Linked DNA regions of Homo sapiens: region 1 is linked to region 2. The links are contacts of gene promoters, found by promoter capture Hi-C in human tissues and cell types (Jung and others, 2019). All regions are on one chromosome and are shown on one strand. The core of a region is centred on a gene start or on the middle of the fragment in contact, and the rest is flanking DNA. Distances in the headings are between cores, read along the strand shown. Region 1 overlaps RSRC2 (arginine and serine rich coiled-coil 2). Region 2 holds the start of B3GNT4 (UDP-GlcNAc:betaGal beta-1,3-N-acetylglucosaminyltransferase 4).

Region 1 (2,700 bases), core at 58-2,557, 300 kb before region 2:
TTCGCTCTTGTTGCCCAGGCTGGAGTGCAGTGGCATGATCTCGACTCACTGCAACCTTCGCCTTTTGGGTTCAAGTGATTCTCCTGCGTCAGCCTCCCGAGTAGCTGAGATTACGGGCATGTACCACCACGCCCGGCTAATTTTGTATTTTTGGTAGAGACGGGGTTTCTCCATGTTGGTCAGGCTGGTCTCGAACTCCCAACCTCAGGTGATCCGCCCACCTCAGCCTCCCAAAGTGCTGGGATTACAGGCGTGAGCCACTGCGCCTTGCAATAAATGGTTTATATATCAAGGGTTTATGTAGAAATATGTCCGTTGATGAACACAATAAATGTTTGCTAAAAACTTGTGAGCTAATACTCAGTCATTTCCTTGGATTTGGTGAAAATCCTGCCTTTTTGCACATTCATAGCTTTTTATAAATCGTTCGTTAATGTAAATCAGGAGGTTTATGTTTTAAAATCGTTTTAAAATCCATTTTTGTATTCTCTTCAAGCAGCTGCAGCTACTGGAGGTTCTGTTCTCAATGTTGCTGCCCTGTTGGCATCAGGAACACAAGTAACACCTCAGATAGCCATGGCAGCTCAGATGGCAGCCCTGCAAGCTAAAGCTTTGGCAGAGACAGGAATAGCTGTTCCTAGCTACTATAACCCAGCCGCTGTTAATCCAATGAAATTTGCTGAACAAGAGAAAAAAAGGAAAATGCTTTGGCAGGGCAAGAAAGAAGGGGTAAGTTCTCTTATTCTGCTTTTCTGTCGTTTATTCCTAATTAGTAATTGCTTAGAAAAACAAATTTGGGTTGAAAAATATTACTTTCGGCTTAACTTTGTAAGAACCTGGGGTGGCCAGACGCGGGTGGCTTATGCCTTTAATCCCAGCACTTTGGGATGCCAAGTGAGCGGATCAGTTGAGGTAAGGAGTCCAAGACCAGCCTGGCCAACATGGCAAAACCCTGTCTCTACTGAAAAGAAGATAAAAATCAGCTGGGTGTGGTGGCACACACCTGTAATCCCAGGTGCTTGGGAGGCTGAGGCAGGAGAATCGCTTGAGCCTGGGATGCAGAGCCTACATACAGTGAGCCAAGATCATGCCACTTAGCCAGGCATGGTGGTGGGCACCTGTAATCCCAGCTACTTGGGAGGCTGAAACAGGAGAATCACTTGATCCTGGGAGGCGGAGGTTGCAGTGAGTTTCCAGCGAAACTCCATCTGGAAAAAAAAAAAAAAAATCACGCCACTGCACTTCAGCCTGGGTGAGACCCTGTCTCAAAAAACTTATAATAAGCTATGATAGTCTTATTTGCCAGTTATTAATACTAAAATAAAACATAATTGATTGAAGTCAAGCTTTCAAAGAAAACTAATATTACCATAGAAGTAGTAAGGAAAAGAGGCTACTTGGTTTAGAATTTTTCATAGATTATGAGGTACTTTTTTTTTTTTGACATTATTTGCAATGACAAATGACATTAAATGCAAATGACATGCAGTCGCAAAAATTGCATGTTGAAAAAGGTCTATGACAGGAAAATAATCCATTTTTTTATTTTATTTTTATTATTTTTGAGACAGAGTCTTGCTCTTGTCACCCAGGCTGGAATGCAGTGGTGTGATCTCAGCTCACTGCAACCTCTGCCTCCCAGGTTCAAGCAATTCTCCTGCCTCAGACTCCTGAGACCCTCCTGGGTCTACAGGTGCCCACCACCATGCCAGGCTAGTTTTTTGTATTTTTAGTAGAGACGGGGTTTCACCTAGTCATCCAGGCTAGTCTCGATCCCCTGACCTCAGGTGATTTGCCCACCTCGGCCTTCCAAAGTGCTGGGATTATAGGAGTGAAGCACGGCGCCAACCTCTTGCTTGTATTTCTTTGCTTTGTGGTTTCTTAAGTCTTGAAATAATTAAACTTACATTGATTGAATGCTATCCATGGTGTTTTTTTTTTTAATTTAGACATTGTTGAGAGATTTCATGTCCTAAAAAATATTTAAATTTTACATATTTTAAAGTTCAGTGTTTGTTAACAGGACAAATCCCAATCTGCTGAAATATGGGAAAAATTGAATTTTGGAAACAAGGACCAAAATGTCAAATTTAGGAAATTGATGGGTATTAAGGTGAGTTTCACATGTGCCAGGGGATCTTTGTATTAGCTATTAGCCCTCCTGCACTGTTCTTCCCTCATTTTCTTAGTTCTGGTCTTTACTCAGGTGTCAGCGTTTTTGAGTTCTTTCCCACCACCTTTTGTGAAATAACAAGCAATCCCATTCTGAAACATTTCCATCTCCCCTACCCACTGTCCTCCCTACACACACACTTGGAGAGAGAGAGAGAGACGGGGTTTTGCTCTGCTTGCTCTGTCACTTGGGCTGGAGTACAGTGGTGCAGTCATACCTCACTGCAGCCTTAAACTTCGAGGCTCAAGCAGTCCTTCCACCTCGGCCTCTCAAAGCCCTGGATCACAGTTCTGAGCCACTGCGCCCAGCCTCCATCCCCATTTTCTACTTTACTTTCCTCTGTGGCATTTATACCCTGACATCTTCTACATATTATGTTTTTTCCAACCTACTAAACTGAAGTTAACTTTTGTTACACCCTGCTATATTCCAGACCTAGAAAGAACATTGCCTTGTCCTTTGGAGGTGTTCAATAATGAATGGAAATTAAGTTATTGAGATCAAATACATATCCCAAAAGTATATTT
Region 2 (2,700 bases), core at 93-2,592:
GCTAAGGGTTTTGTTGGTTTTTTTTGAGACAGTGTCTCTGTCACCCAGACTCTAGTGCAGTGGCACAATTATAGCTCACTGCAGCCTGGAACTCCTGGGTTCAAGCGATCCTCCGGCCTCGGCCTCCCCAGTAGCTGGGACTACAGGCGTGCAGGGCCCGGCTAATTTATTTTTTGTAGAGATGTGGTATCTTTTGTTGCCTGGGCTGGTCTGGAACTCCTGGCCTCAAGCGATCCTCCCGCCTTGGCCTCCCAAAGCGTTGGGACTACAGGCGTGAGCCACCGGCCAGAGTTTTCTGAGCCCCCTGGAGATCTATGCGGGGGTGGGGGACAAGGGGGTCTGGCAGAGGCGGTGAAAGAATCTGACCTTTGGTAAAAGGCCACTCCTACCGCCCCTTCCCTGGTGGGCTGCGGAAGGCTGGGGAGGAAGCATGAACGGCAGCTGGAGACTGTCTCCGTGCTCAGGATGCCGGGCGGCGGCGGCGGCGGGGTCGAAGCGAGATGAGTCTCAGGTGTGCGAGCACCGCGGGCTGTGGACGAGAGGCCCGGGCGGGCGGCGGTGCCATTCACCGAGAAGGGCGCACAGCAGGTGGCTTGGTTCCGTCCCAGGAGGTTTCAGCCCAGGCTGCGCCGCGGCCCGGGTGGCCCCTGTCCCGCCGCGGGCGTCCCCAGGCGCTGGCCGCACGGCCTCGCCCCGCCGCCCTCCGAGCCGCGGAGACCCCAGAGCCCGGCTCTCCACCCGCCGCGGAGCGCACGACCCCGTCTGGTGGGGCGCGGGTCCTGAGGCTGCGCTCGGCCTTGGGCGGCAGCCGCCTCGGATCCCCACAGGACTCGGTGACCCAAAACGCCCTGGCGCGGGCAGGGGGCGAACTCTGGTTCATTCTTTCAACGCGACAGTCTCCGAAGGGCTGACGGCAGCAGAGACCCACTCTGCGGGGACCCCCGGGCCGGGGTTGGCAGCAGCGCTGCGCGTCGGGCGCGGGCGGCCCAGGCTGGCGGGGTCTACCGCGCCCGGCTCCAGCCTCTGTCCCCAGCCTGGAGAACCGAAGCCGAGCGGCCCGTGGGCCCCGAGCCGTGCCCGCCGAGGCCAGACTCGCGCCGCACCCGGGCGGGGCCGGCGTCCTCGCGGGGACCCTGGGGGACCGGGGAGCGGGCCGCGGGGTGCAAAGGCACGGCCGCCCTGGCGACGCCCCTCCCTGCACGGTGACCCAGCCTCCCTCACAGCAGCGGCGTCCCGGCCCCCAACCTACCTGAGCGTGACGCCGGGGTACGGGCGTGGAGCTCGTGCAGCGGAGCCAGGGCGGATGGCGCCCAGGTGCGCGGAGCTCTCGGGGCTCGGGAGTGGGCGGGGCTTCTGGAGGAGGTGGGAATTTGGGGCGGGGTTCTGGCGGGGGCGGGTTTGGGGCCTCCCCGGACCCAGCCGCGGGTCTCCGCAGCGCCGGAGGCTGGACGCACGCGTCCCGCGCCCGGTCCTGGGGTCCGCACGAGCCGGGTCGGGCAGAGGCTGCTCCTCCTCCCCAGGACGCCGGCGCCACACCCGCCCCCCGACGCGTGCGGCGGGACAGAAGCGGAGGCGGGAGTGCTGGGAACAGCCTTTACTGCCCACGCCCTACACGGCGAACATGCGCAGAGCCTCCTCCGCCGAGCGGCACTGGTTCAGCTGGATCTGCACCTCTACGGTCAGGGGCTCAGGGTGGTAATCGCCTTCGTAGATCGGAATCACGGCTTTCGGCTTTTCTGAGAAAATTTAAGTGCGAGCATGAGCCCCGGGAGACGGATGGGCTGGCGTTCTCGGCCGCCCTGACCCATCCCATATGCAAGCCCTGGACCCTGTCCCAGCGGGAGCACAGTTTTGGTCCTCGGGTGTTAACAGTAATAAGAAATAAAATTAAATTGTATTTAATTAGATCATTTAATAAATCGCAGCTGTTTGAGTTGCAAGACTGGCTGCTTTTTGCTTTGAGACAGTGTCGTGCTCCGTCGCCCAGGCTGGAGTGCGGTGGCATGATCCCGGCTCACTGCAACCTCCGCCTCCCAGGTTCAAGCGATTCTCCTGCGTCAGCCTCCAAGTAGCTGGGATTACAGGCGCCTGTCACCACGACCGGCTATTTTTTGTAGTTTTAGTAGAGACGGGGTTTCACCATGTTGGCCAGCCTGGTCTCGAACTCCTGACCTCAAGTGATCCGCCTGCCTAGGCCTCCCAACGTGCTAGGATCACAGGCGTACACTACCGAGCCCAGCTGCAGATATTTTCTTAAAAATGAAGTAATTATAGCACTTCAGGGGAAACAACTGAAAGCATTTCAATAAATGTATAACATTTGCCCTAAAAATGAGACAACATTGTATCTGCCACCATGAATTTACCAATTTTCCAATACGCAAAGACCTTTCTAATGATGTGGGTGGTGATAGTAAAGAACGTGATCTTTGGAAAATGTATAGTGACAGGTGTCAACTGTTGGAATATCTGCATAAGTCTGTTAACCTGTAGTTTACAAGTAACTCATGCATGTTACAAACTGCATGGTAAAATATCCGTTCAAAATGCAAACTAGATTAATGAATTTTAATCTGATTATGAAAAATTCAATATAGATTGTTTTCACATTGTAACAACCTTTAAGAAATTACCACTTGTCAAATTTGGTGTAATATTAAAGAAATTATATTATTTTAAGGTCTATTAAAATACTCCCTC

Evidence for each region. Contacts are between HindIII fragments. The study calls those that stand out against the background at their distance.
Region 1: a contact is called between a fragment that was not itself captured here and the fragment with the promoter of B3GNT4 in region 2, in 1 of the 25 tissues and cell types used here (dorsolateral prefrontal cortex).

What each region holds. Positions count from the first base shown.
Region 1 is chr12:122,506,247-122,508,946 of GRCh38, reverse strand. RSRC2 (arginine and serine rich coiled-coil 2) reads left to right here. Exons shown (of 10, transcript NM_023012.6): 8 at 500-729; 9 at 2,024-2,113. Among named protein-coding and RNA genes, the nearest start is that of ZCCHC8, 6.7 kb to the right of the region's middle. The HindIII fragment of the contact is 4,115 bases long and covers 1-2,700 here.
Region 2 is chr12:122,202,351-122,205,050 of GRCh38, reverse strand. B3GNT4 (UDP-GlcNAc:betaGal beta-1,3-N-acetylglucosaminyltransferase 4) reads right to left here and starts at 1,342. Exons shown (of 3, transcript NM_030765.4): 1 at 1,250-1,342; 2 at 367-529. The coding sequence starts at 432. It overlaps LRRC43 (leucine rich repeat containing 43), which reads right to left. Exons shown (of 12, transcript NM_001098519.2): 12 at 1,580-1,736. The coding sequence ends at 1,609. RefSeq lists a silencer at 1,028-1,657. The HindIII fragment of the contact is 16,495 bases long and covers 1-2,700 here.